3 separate regions of the Homo sapiens genome follow, and all the other regions are linked to region 3. The links are contacts of gene promoters, found by promoter capture Hi-C in blood cells and fetal thymus (Javierre and others, 2016). All regions are on one chromosome and are shown on one strand. Each heading gives the region's core, a stretch centred on a gene start or on the middle of the fragment in contact. The rest is flanking DNA. Distances are from core to core; before and after follow the strand shown. Region 1 overlaps LDLRAD4 (low density lipoprotein receptor class A domain containing 4). Region 2 overlaps LDLRAD4 (low density lipoprotein receptor class A domain containing 4). Region 3 holds the start of LDLRAD4 (low density lipoprotein receptor class A domain containing 4).

What was found. Contacts are between HindIII fragments. The CHiCAGO score rates a contact against its expected background, and 5 or more counts as called.
Region 1: a fragment that was not itself captured here is called in contact with the fragment with the promoter of LDLRAD4 in region 3 in 14 of 17 cell types (naive CD4 T cells, megakaryocytes, activated CD4 T cells and 11 more); the score reaches 20.5 in naive CD4 T cells.
Region 2: a fragment that was not itself captured here is called in contact with the fragment with the promoter of LDLRAD4 in region 3 in 5 of 17 cell types (megakaryocytes, non-activated CD4 T cells, M1 macrophages and 2 more); the score reaches 6.4 in megakaryocytes.

The regions. Positions count from the first base shown.
Region 1 is chr18:13,389,724-13,393,390 of GRCh38, forward strand. The region is part of intron 3 of LDLRAD4 (low density lipoprotein receptor class A domain containing 4); the gene reads left to right. Among named protein-coding and RNA genes, the nearest start is that of LDLRAD4-AS1, 36 kb to the right of the region's middle. The HindIII fragment of the contact is 3,259 bases long and covers 290-3,548 here.
Region 2 is chr18:13,351,051-13,354,707 of GRCh38, forward strand. The region is part of intron 2 of LDLRAD4 (low density lipoprotein receptor class A domain containing 4); the gene reads left to right. Among named protein-coding and RNA genes, the nearest start is that of LDLRAD4-AS1, 75 kb to the right of the region's middle. The HindIII fragment of the contact is 1,820 bases long and covers 853-2,672 here.
Region 3 is chr18:13,217,510-13,220,749 of GRCh38, forward strand. LDLRAD4 (low density lipoprotein receptor class A domain containing 4) reads left to right here and starts at 1,251. Exons shown (of 7, transcript NM_001378100.1): 1 at 1,251-1,479. RefSeq lists a silencer at 42-411. The HindIII fragment of the contact is 2,786 bases long and covers 1-1,421 here.

The DNA.
Region 1 (3,667 bases), core at 669-3,168, 170 kb after region 3:
ACTGAGACACCCACGCCATCCTCACACTCTGGGGTGCTGGGGATACCTCTGCCCCAAAGGAAAGGGAAAGGCCAAACTGAGGCTCTGTTTAGAATACTCAGAATCCTGTGGTTCTGCCTGGAGGATTCTTGCAGATAGGACAGTACCTCTCACATATTAAGCCAAGGTATATGTCAGCTGCTACCCCTGGGGCCTGTGTCACCCCACCTTCCTCCCCACTTGCTCACAGTCACCCACTTGTAGCTCCTCCCCAGCTCACGTTTTTTTTTATTTGTAATTTATGAATAAAAGCTTTCTATATTGGTAGGTTCCAGTGAGATGTTTTGATACATGTATGTGTTGTAGAGTGAACAGGTCAGGCTAATGGGCTCTGCTCATCACTGCACATTTTATCATTTCTTTGTGCTGAGAATACTTTGGCTCCTCTCTTTCAGCTCACATTTATGAGTTTCCCAAGAATCTGTTTCCTTACTTTGGCCTCTTCCCCCCAGTGTCAGCCTGGCTGAGGAACAAGGTGTGCCAGCGGCAGTGGTGGGGTGTTCGCCACAGCCGCCGTTTTGGAGCCACAGTGTGCCGGGAGCCGTGCTCCTGCTATGTGTCCTTTGCCAGGTGTCACACCAACACAGCGCCGCGCGGGGCACACTCAGTGCAGGCAGGAACTGGCTGGTGCCAGTGGCCTCTCCAGATTGTCCCACGCTGTGTGGCCTTGGGTACACACGGGTTCCCTGGGGAGCTTCCCTACCACCTGGGTCTCACCCTCAGAGACTGAGGTTTAATTGGTCTTGGCATCACCTAGACCTGCTAAATCAGGACTCTCATCCTCACAAGATCCTAGGTGCTTGGCTCACTTTAAAGTCTGGGAAGCACTGGGAGCTGGCACCCAGCAGAGCAGTGTTCAGAGAGAGGCCAGGGTGCTTGAGGGGGTCATGTCTCAAAAAAAAAAAATCACCTGACTTGTGCCATTCCTTCAGCAGGGGGGATCAAAATAATGGGTCTGCCTGTTCTCAGACCATCATGTGTTGAATAGTGTTCACACTGTTGGGTGCGCCAGCACCTGCAGGGTGGCAGTTTTAGCTTCCCCATCTCTCTCTAGGAAGTAACCAGCAGTGAAATAAGGAGATGTGAGCGCCTGGCCTTCTCTGGAGCTGGGTCCCTGGAGACTTGGCTCATCATTTTTATTCTTGGTCTCCCTTCCCATCTGTCTGCCCACATAGTTTGCAAGAGTCCCTGTGATGTAGGATGCAGGGGCTGACACACTCTGCCTGCCCAGGCAGCTGGGTGAAGGTGTAGCTTTAGAAGGAGGCGCTCAGGAGTCCGGTGCCCAGCCCACTGCCTTAGTTGGGTTGCTGTTCTTAAAATTTTGGATTTTGCTGATTCTCTGGGCTAATAGAAAGGAGTCTTGCCTTAGATAAGACATTGAGGCATCTTCCCTAGGCTTTAAATTTTGTTTTAGGGCCAGGCAAACATCACTGGGCAGTTAACCATATGTCCACTAAAATTTGTCACTTTATGTTCCAATTCTCTTGGAGGGTAGAGGCTCAGAATTCCTCTTTAAGAGGGTTTTGGGCAGCACTCGGGCTGTGGGGGAGGGCTGGGAGACCTGCCATGAAGCTGCGTTTGTTTGGAGCGTGTGAAAGTACCATGAAGGGGGTGGGAGTTTGGAAGGCCCCTGTCCCCATGCCACGTTGGCAATCCTGTGTGATGGAGTTCACTCTGACCTCGTGCCTCCTGGGTGAGTGTGGGTATACTCACATAGATGCGTATTTAACTTCTTAATTATGATCTTAGGTGAATGCTTGCATACAGGAATTGATACATTATTTTTAGTTTTCTCAGCATATGCAATTTAGAAATGATTTTAGTCATTTAGATAGTATTTTATATCAAAAATTAATTTTTTCCTTTTACAAGTAGCATCTGCTCATTGTAAGCAAACTCGGAAAGCGCAAGAGTCAAAAGAAAAATAATTTCCTACACGCATCTTTGCCATGTGACTCTTTCTTCGGGCAACATTTTAGTTTACATCCTTCCAGTTTTGTCTTTTGCAAATTTCTTCCTACAGAACTGTGTTCATAATAGTATTTAATATGGTAACTTGATCATTCCCTTTTAACATTACATTACGAGCATTTTTCTTATAAATACGATTTTAAATTGCTGCATAATATTTTCATGTACATGTACTTGAATTTTAAAATTGTGTTCCTGTTGTTGGATAGTCCACTTTTTGACGGTTTTCACCCTTATGAATAACGCTTTGATGAACACCTTTGTGCATAAAAGCTCTTCTGTATATTTGATTATTTCCTTAGGATAAACTCCCTGAGGCAAAATTATTGGGTCCAAAGATGTGAATTCTGTTACAGCTTATAATTAAATTTCCAGAAGGATTGATTGATCCTAACTTTTGAGGCTGTGCTGAAACTGGTTTCCTTCTGTTGCCAGTTGCCTGTTCACAGTGACTGCGCTCAGAATTGGGTGTGTCCTCCACGGTTCAGCTGTGCGTGGAGCGGCCCCCACCTGCCTCACAGGGCATTTGTGAAGCTCTTTGCAGCATGCGGCTCTAAAGGCCGCCTGAGTGCCATGTGTTGTGTGGAGCACCTTCATGTTACACTTGAGCATGTAAAAACACAGATGTCCTAAACTTACTGTTTTTGTGCTTCCAGGCCCTCTTTCTGCCTGGCTGTCATTCATTGAGCAATGATATAGGTGAATGGACTTGGGAAAGATAAGACTCTGGCTGTCCTAAAAACAAACCCCCAGTTCCTCTGAGCAGAGGGAAGCAGGGACCCTTCCGGGCTGGGTCCGCCGGCCTCTGTCCCAGGTGCCGTCATAGTGGTGGAGATTTCACCTGAGGTTTCTTGTGGTTTTGACTGACTTGGAATGCATCCTTTCTGGGTGTCACCGTACACATCCTAAAGAGGTTGCTGGCTTGAGATTCTGCCTCTTCCCGGCCCATGGTACCACCCTTGGATGCTGCAGAGGTTTTGCACAATTAATTTTCTTAGGCTTTTTAAATTATTTTAATGTTAGAGAAAAACATTTAACCTCAAATAACTAGGTAAGTGAATCAAATTCCTATAGAATTTATAGCGAGTCTTTCTGGTGAAAGGAGAATCAGATCTAATTGTTAAATAAATTAAGGTTATTTCGCTCATAAAGGAGGAGGAGGGCAGTTAGTAGTCTTTGTCTGAAAGTGCTATTTTGTGGATGTTGGTGACCAGGTTTTCTTAGCCACTAATGAGACTGAAAAAGAATCACTTAAATGGAATAGTTGGAGCTGTTTCCCCTGTGGGCTCCGAGTGAAGGATGTAGGCTTGCTGGGGGTGTGACTGGGCTGCTGTGTTCAGGAGCAGCTCCCGGCGTGCCCTTCCCACCCCACAGACCTTCCGCGCATTCCTCATCCCTCTCCTCTGCAAGGTTGCACCTGTGGCTGACCCACGGATGCCCTCAGCCCCCGCCTTCCAGAGCTGCCCAGAGAATGCTCGCTTTAGGAGATATTGAGAGCTGTTCCTCCATAAAAGGAGTGGGGGTGAATTAATGGCCAAAGCTTGGAAGAAGAAACTTAAATCAGTTTCTTTACTACAGAACTTTTCAGTCTTTAATATGGGGCTGTGCAGTATGAAGGTCCCAGGTGGGCAGGCAGCGGGCAGTGTTTTCCAAATGA
Region 2 (3,657 bases), core at 513-3,012, 130 kb after region 3:
AATCAGGTAGCATGATGCCTCCAGCTTTGTTCTTTTTGCTTAGGATTGTCTTGGCTATATAGGATCTTTTTTGGTTCCATATGAAATTTAAAGTAGTTTTTTCTAATTCTGTGAAGAATGTCAAAGGTAGTTTGATGGGAATAATATTGAATATATAAATTACTTTGGGCAGTGTGGCCATTTTCATGATATTGATTCTTTCTATCTATGAGGATGGAATGTTTTTCCATTTGTTTGTGTCCTCTTATTTCCTTGAGCAGTGGTTTGTAGTTCTCTTTGAAGAAGTCCTTCACATCCCTTGTTAGCTGTATTCCTAGGCATTTTATTCTCTTTGTAGCAATTGTGAATGGGAGTTCATTTGTGATTTGTCTGTCTGCTTGTCTGTTGTTGGTGTATAGGAATGTTTGTGATTTTTGCACATTGATTTTGTATCCTGAGACTTTGCTGCAGTTGCTTATCAGCTTAAGAAGTTTTTGGACTGAGATGATGAGGTTTTCTAAATATAGAATCATGTTGTCTTCGGTTGAATCCCTGAATAGACCAATAACAAGTTCTGAAATTGAGGAATTAATAGCCTACCAACCGAAAAAAGCCCAGGACCAGACAGATTCACAGCCAAATTCTACCAGAGATACAGAGAGTATCTGGTACCATTCCTTCTGAAACTATTCCTAACAATTGAAAAGAAGGGACTCCTCCTTAACTCATTTTATGAGGCCAGCATCATCCTGATACCAAAACTTGGCAGAGACACAACAAAAAAAGAAAACTTCAGGTCAATATCCCTGATGAACATCAATGCAAACATTTTCAATAAGATACTGGCAAACCGAATCCAGCAGCACATCAAAAAGCTTATCCACCATGATCAAGTTGGCTTCATCCCTAGGATGCAAGGGTGGTTCAACATATGCAAATCAGTAAACATAATCCATCACATAAACAGAACCAATGACAAAAACCACATGATCATCTCAATAGATGCAGAAAAGGCCTTTGATAAAATTCAACATCCCTTTGTGTTAAAAACTCTCAATAAACTATGTCTTGATGTAACATATCTCAAAATAATAAGAACTATTTATGACAGACCCACAGCCAAAATCATACTGAATGGGCAAAAGCTGGAAGCATTCCCTTTGAAAACCAGCACAAGACAAGGATACCCTTTCTCACCACTTCTATTCAACATAGTGTTGGAAGTTGTGGCCAGGGCAATCAGGCAAGAGAAAGAAATAAAGAGTATTCAAATAGGAATAGAGGACGTCAAATTGTCTCATTTTTAGTTCAAGTTTTGGAACATACAGAATTCTTGGCTGACAGGTTGTTTTTGTTTGTTTTATTTTTCCCTTTCAGCAGTTTAAATAAATCCTCACATTGCCTTTGGGCTGCTGGGTTTCTGCTGAACAATGTGCTGATTATCTTACTGGATATCTTTTGTATATGATGGTTCACTTCTCTCAGTACTTAAAAGATTCGGTCTTTTGACAGTTTGAATATGTCTTGGTGTGGGTCTCTTTAGTTTTATCCTACTTTGAGTTGTTAAATTTCTCGGATTTGTCAATTTATGTATTTTCTCAAAGTTGAGACATTTTCTGCTATTATTCCTTCAAATAATATCTTCCTCTTTCTCTCTTCTCCTTCTGGAATTCTCGTAACATGTATACTTGTTCCCTTGCTTGTGCCCCATAAGCCTCTTAGGCTCTGTTCACTTTTCTTCATTCTTTTTTCTTTCTACCTCTCAGATTCAGTAGTTTTAAATGACTTGTCTTTAGATTTTCTTATTCTTTCTTTTACCTGTTTGAGTTTGCTGTTGAGCTCCTGTAATATATTTTTGAAAATATAGTAGCATTTTTCATTCAGTTGTGTTTTTCAGCTCTAGAATTTCTGTTTGGTTCCATTTTATAATTTCTGTCTCTTTGCTATTATTCTCATTTTGTTTTTAAATCATTTTCCTGATTTTCTTTAGTACTTAGTCCATTTTTCCTCTAGCTCTTTAAGCATATTTAAGACTTATGTGGTAAAATCTTTGTCTAGTATATCCAGTGCCTATGTTTCTTCAGGGATAGTTTCCACTGCTTTATTTTCTTCATTTTTGTAAGCCATGTTTTCCTGTTTTGTCTTTTGTATGTCGTGTGCTTTTTTAAAATGGAAAATTAGGCATTTGAAAAAAAAATAACCACTTCCTCCTGTCTTTCTAGAGTGGCTTTGTGTTGGGGAGGACCTTTGGGATCAGCTGAGCTTTATTAACAAGCTGAGCTTTGGGATAGCTCACTGTGAAGGCTTAAGGCCTTGCTAGGCCCTTTTCTGGGTATGTGTCTTATGTGGGCCTGTGTGTATGCTTTTCAATTCCCAAGTATAGATGGTGGCTTTTAATTTTCTTAATTTCCCCAATACTCTCACCTTGGCTGCTGGACCTTATGTATTCTATTGTATTCCTCTGCCTGCAGTCTGTTGCCCTAGGTGTCTGTGGGTCTGTTTTCTTAGAGTAGCTGTCACTGCTGCTTCCTGTTTCTTGTGCCTTTTCCTAGCCTGAGAGGCAAGCTGTGGTGGTTTTTGCCTTCTGAGCTTGGAGTTAGGCAATGCAGAGACCAGTCCTCAGGCAGTCCTCAGACAGGTTAAAATATTGCAAATTAGGTCAGGTCTACTCCCTTCAGAGGGAGGGAATTGGAAGCTTTGGCCACTGCCTCCTCCAGCCCAAGGCTACACCAGGCTGGGAAGTAGGGGAAAAAAGAGTGAATAAAAATGAAATGAAATGGCAGACATTTTGAATGTGGCTTCTTCAGTAGGCATTTGCTTAATGACTATAGAACTTTGTTTTCCAGCTCTTTTATAAAGTTAATGTAGCTAGTCTCTAGTTGTTTTTCTTTAATGTTTCTTTGGGTGAATGAGGGCCTGGAGCCTCCTGGTCTGCTATTTTGCTGATGTCACTGCTCCAGATAATATTCTTTTTTTTTCCTAGTTAATACAACAGTGATTTAACTCACAGGATTAAAAATGTTTAGAGTTTTAGATGGGCATGGTGGTGCACACCTGTAGTCCCAGCTGCTTGGGAAGTTGAGTTGGGATGATCAGTTAAGCCCAAGAGTTCGAGGCTGTAGTGTGCCATGTTTGCACCTGTGAGTAGCCATTGCCCTCCAGCCTTGGCAATATAGCAAGACCCAGTCTCTAAAAAAAGAAATAAGAAAAGCTTAGCATTTAATTTTTTCAAGTACTTTGGAGAATGCAATAAGAATTGTCAATTTTATGCTAAAATTTATCATATGGAAGTTCTTACGGTGTTGATTTGGTTGCAGCACAACTTTTTATTTATGAAAAAGGAATTTACTCTTTGAAATGGTAAGATTTTGGGACCAACAGCATGAAATGGATATAATGGAAAATGTTCTTTTATTGCTGTTGGGTGCATTCTCTTGCACATTCTGTAATTTTGACATAGGCTACTGTGATTAGAAATTACATCATTTGTGTGATGGAAAAATATAGAGAACTAGAGGCAGTCTGAACTAAATTACTGCTCCATGAAACCAAAGGGGCCTGAGATGACTTAGACACCATCCTTCTTGAGGATGGGGAATGAATCAGTGATCAGCTGAGCCTTCTGGTGGTGTGATTCAGACATTATTTAGCTGGGGTTCTGAACCCAGGATCCATTAA
Region 3 (3,240 bases), core at 1-2,500:
CCACGGCGGCCCCGGTACCCGCGGCCTGGCCGCGCGCCGGGTCCCCACCGCGGAGTGGGAAGGAGGAGGAGAGACTGGAGGAGTTGGAGACAGACACAGCCGCGGCGCGCAGTCACGGCTGGAGACAGACGGCGGCGACGGCGGCGGGAGGCGGGACACTCCCCCCTCCGGCGACTGGAGGCGGGACACCTCCCCGGCGGCCGCAGCGCCGCGTCCCCTCTCTCCCCGCGCTGAGGCTGCGGACCGGGCCCGGCGGGATTAGCAGGCGAGTGCGTTGGCCCTGCCCGCTCCGCGCGCCGCCGCGGCCGGCCGGGGATCCCCTGCAAGCCACTGAGCCGCTGCCGCCGCTGCAGCCAGACAGGCTGCGGGTGCCTGGGAAAGTGGAAGCAGGGCGGGGAGCGCGGGGGAGGCCCGGGGGTGAGGTCCTCAGCTCTTAAAGAACCCCGGCGCGCCGCGCTCCCCGCCGGCCCGCCGCGCGCCCCCTGCCGCGCCCCGCACAGCGCCCCTCCCCCTGGCCAGCAGGGCCGGTGGCCGCGGAGCCGCACTGCGGGCAGTCCCCGCCTCCGCTCCGGGGGGGCGGCCCAGGTGAGTGCGGACCCGAGGTGGCCGCAGTGGTCGGGGCTTCTGGCCCAAGTTCACCGCTGCGCTCCGGAGGGAGGGGTGGCGGGGGACTCGGGAACCGGACGCTTTGGGAACTGGACGTCCGCGAGCCTGCGCCGTCGGCTGGGGCCGGAGGGAGAAGCTGGGCGCCGAGCGCGCGAGGTCTGTGAGGCTTGGTCCGGGTGGGCTTGCCGGTGGGCACGGCGGGGATCCGGGGCTGGCCCGCGGGCGGGGTTACGCCGGTGGAGGGACTTCGCCGACCCCCACCCCGTTTTCTGTTTCCTGGTGCCCTGGGGCGCAGGGTGTCCCGCGGTTGCAAGACTGAATTCTGCACCGCCCGGAGGCCAGGATGGGCGCGCGGATGGCAGCCCCAACTGTCTCCGCGCCCCTAGGCCTCGGCGAGCCGTGGCGGGCAGGGACTGGAGGTCAGCGGGAAGCGGGAAGATCCTGCAGGACCTGACCGGGGAGTTTGCGGGAAGGAGGGGGCGGGCCAAGCCCCGCAGCCCCTCAGTCCCGCATCCTGCACCGCGCGCTCCCCGGCCCCGGCCCCTCGGGCCCGCTTCACCCGGCGTCCCCCCGGGTCCCCCCGCGCGCGTTGACGTCGGTCGCGGGACCGCCCGGAGCTCCCGGCATTGGCTGGGAAGTCGATTGTCTGGGGCTGCTGCTGTTGCACTTAGGCTGGGTCTCCGAGCCCCGGAGGAAGCAGGCGTGTGTTGAATTTCTCTCTGCCCCTCACCTTGGAATAAACAGGAAGCGACAAGCACCCAGCCCGGCCCGGCACTTGCCTTTGTGAAGGGGTCTGCCCTGCACAGCCTTTAGGAAGCTTCCTCGGGACCCCTTCCCGGTGCGCCGCCCCGGGTGGGCCTGGGGGCGCGCCCTGTGAGTACACCGGTGGAAGACAGTGGGTTCGGTTTAGGTTAAATCGCTATCGTGGCGGAGAGGGCATTTGCTTGTTTAAACTTTTTTTTTTTTTTTTTTAATTGGAAAAGGAGAAGGTTTCCCGATGAGGCAGAGGTTTTCAGGACGACAGGGACGCATGGTGGGTGGGCGGCACTGGGGGAAGGCGCATCCGAGAGTACAGCGTTCTTGGGTCACCTACCTGGAGGGACACCTCGTCGCCAGTCAGGGCAGCTAGAAGCTCTTTAAAGCAAGCAGGACTCCTTAGCTCTGCCCAGGCACAGGAATGGTTGCTGTGTGCCCATAGCCGCATGAACTAGCATGATTTTTGTTTTTCCCCCAAAATTTTTTAATTAGCTAGAATTAGATAATTTTGATTTGCTTCTTTTCTTTTCCTCTGTGTCTTGGTCTATTCCCTTCTCTTTTTCTCTTTTCTAATTATTTTGGCATCTTCTCATCCCCGGACCAGCGCTGCTTTCTAAATGTTAATTACCATTGCAATACATATTTATTGAGGGCCTACTATGTGTTAGGCATTGTAGGATGTGAGGTAAGAGTAGCTGCACAGAATGTGGGTTCTGAGCGCTAGTATTAGTAAGTTATTTGCAGTAGAGGTGGATAGAGATGGTGAGCAGCATTGACTCTCAAAAATAGGGTCCTATGGCTGGTAAGGAGGTTGGTGCCTTCTCGAAGGGCTAGTGCTGGGAAGCTTCCTTTTAAAAACGGCCCTTTCTGCCGGTTTGGCTAGCCAAGAATGGCATCCTCCTCTCTGTATCTTCCCTGGAGCTTCAGGACTGAGTATTGAATGACAGAGAAGGTTCTGCAAAGTCTGCACAGGGAGACTGCCATTGCATCAAGTCATGTCTGCATTCTGTATATGGTATTGTCTTTTCTAGTCTTTAACTCGAGTGTGTTGTCATCTGTAACTCTCCCTTTGTACTCTGCACAATTCTTCTGGAATATAGTCTTTGTGTTCAGTCAAGGATCAGAGTGTCAAATCTGAGTCATTACATAGACAAATGAGGATGTCTGAGTATTACCCATGTATATTTATTGAATTATATTTGGTTTCCCATCAACCCTTGAAATGTTATTTGATGGACCTTTCTAAGCAGTGCTTTTTAAAACAGGGGGCTAACTTCCTTATGATCTTTGAAAGCTTAATTCTTTTTAAGAGCTTCATTTTGCTATTGACATTGAACACAGTGTTAGGAATTAGGGCTGGGAATGTAAATGCCAGTAAGGGATTTGCTGTAATGGAATTGTAGCTACCTTCCTCCCTTGTTTTAAATGACCTCTCTAATTTCTTAACATTCTGCTGTTACCCTTGGAAGGGCTTGCCATTGTTGGCCATGGTCCTGGTTCGTGTAGGTTTGTATTTACATTGGAGAAGACTCTTCCCGGCAGGTTTTTAGGGCTGTCTCTTGAATCCTCTCATGGGCTTGGTTTGCAAGACCACAATCCTGCAGTGGAACGCAGCCAGTGCCAGCTGCTTATTAAGGGATTTTGTGCCAATTTGTTGGCACATTATTTGAGACTCCTGCACCCCACCCTACTCCCACTGGAGTATATACATACATAGACAAATATTTATTTTCCCCCAACTGCTGACAGTGTTCTAAGAATAGTTTTCTTGCCTGGCACGCGGAGAGCAAGGGCCCGTCTGCAGAGGTGTTTACAGTTTGGGACTGTGCTGTAGTCTTGGTTGACTTAGCAGCCTGGCAGACCAGCCTCATAGCTCCT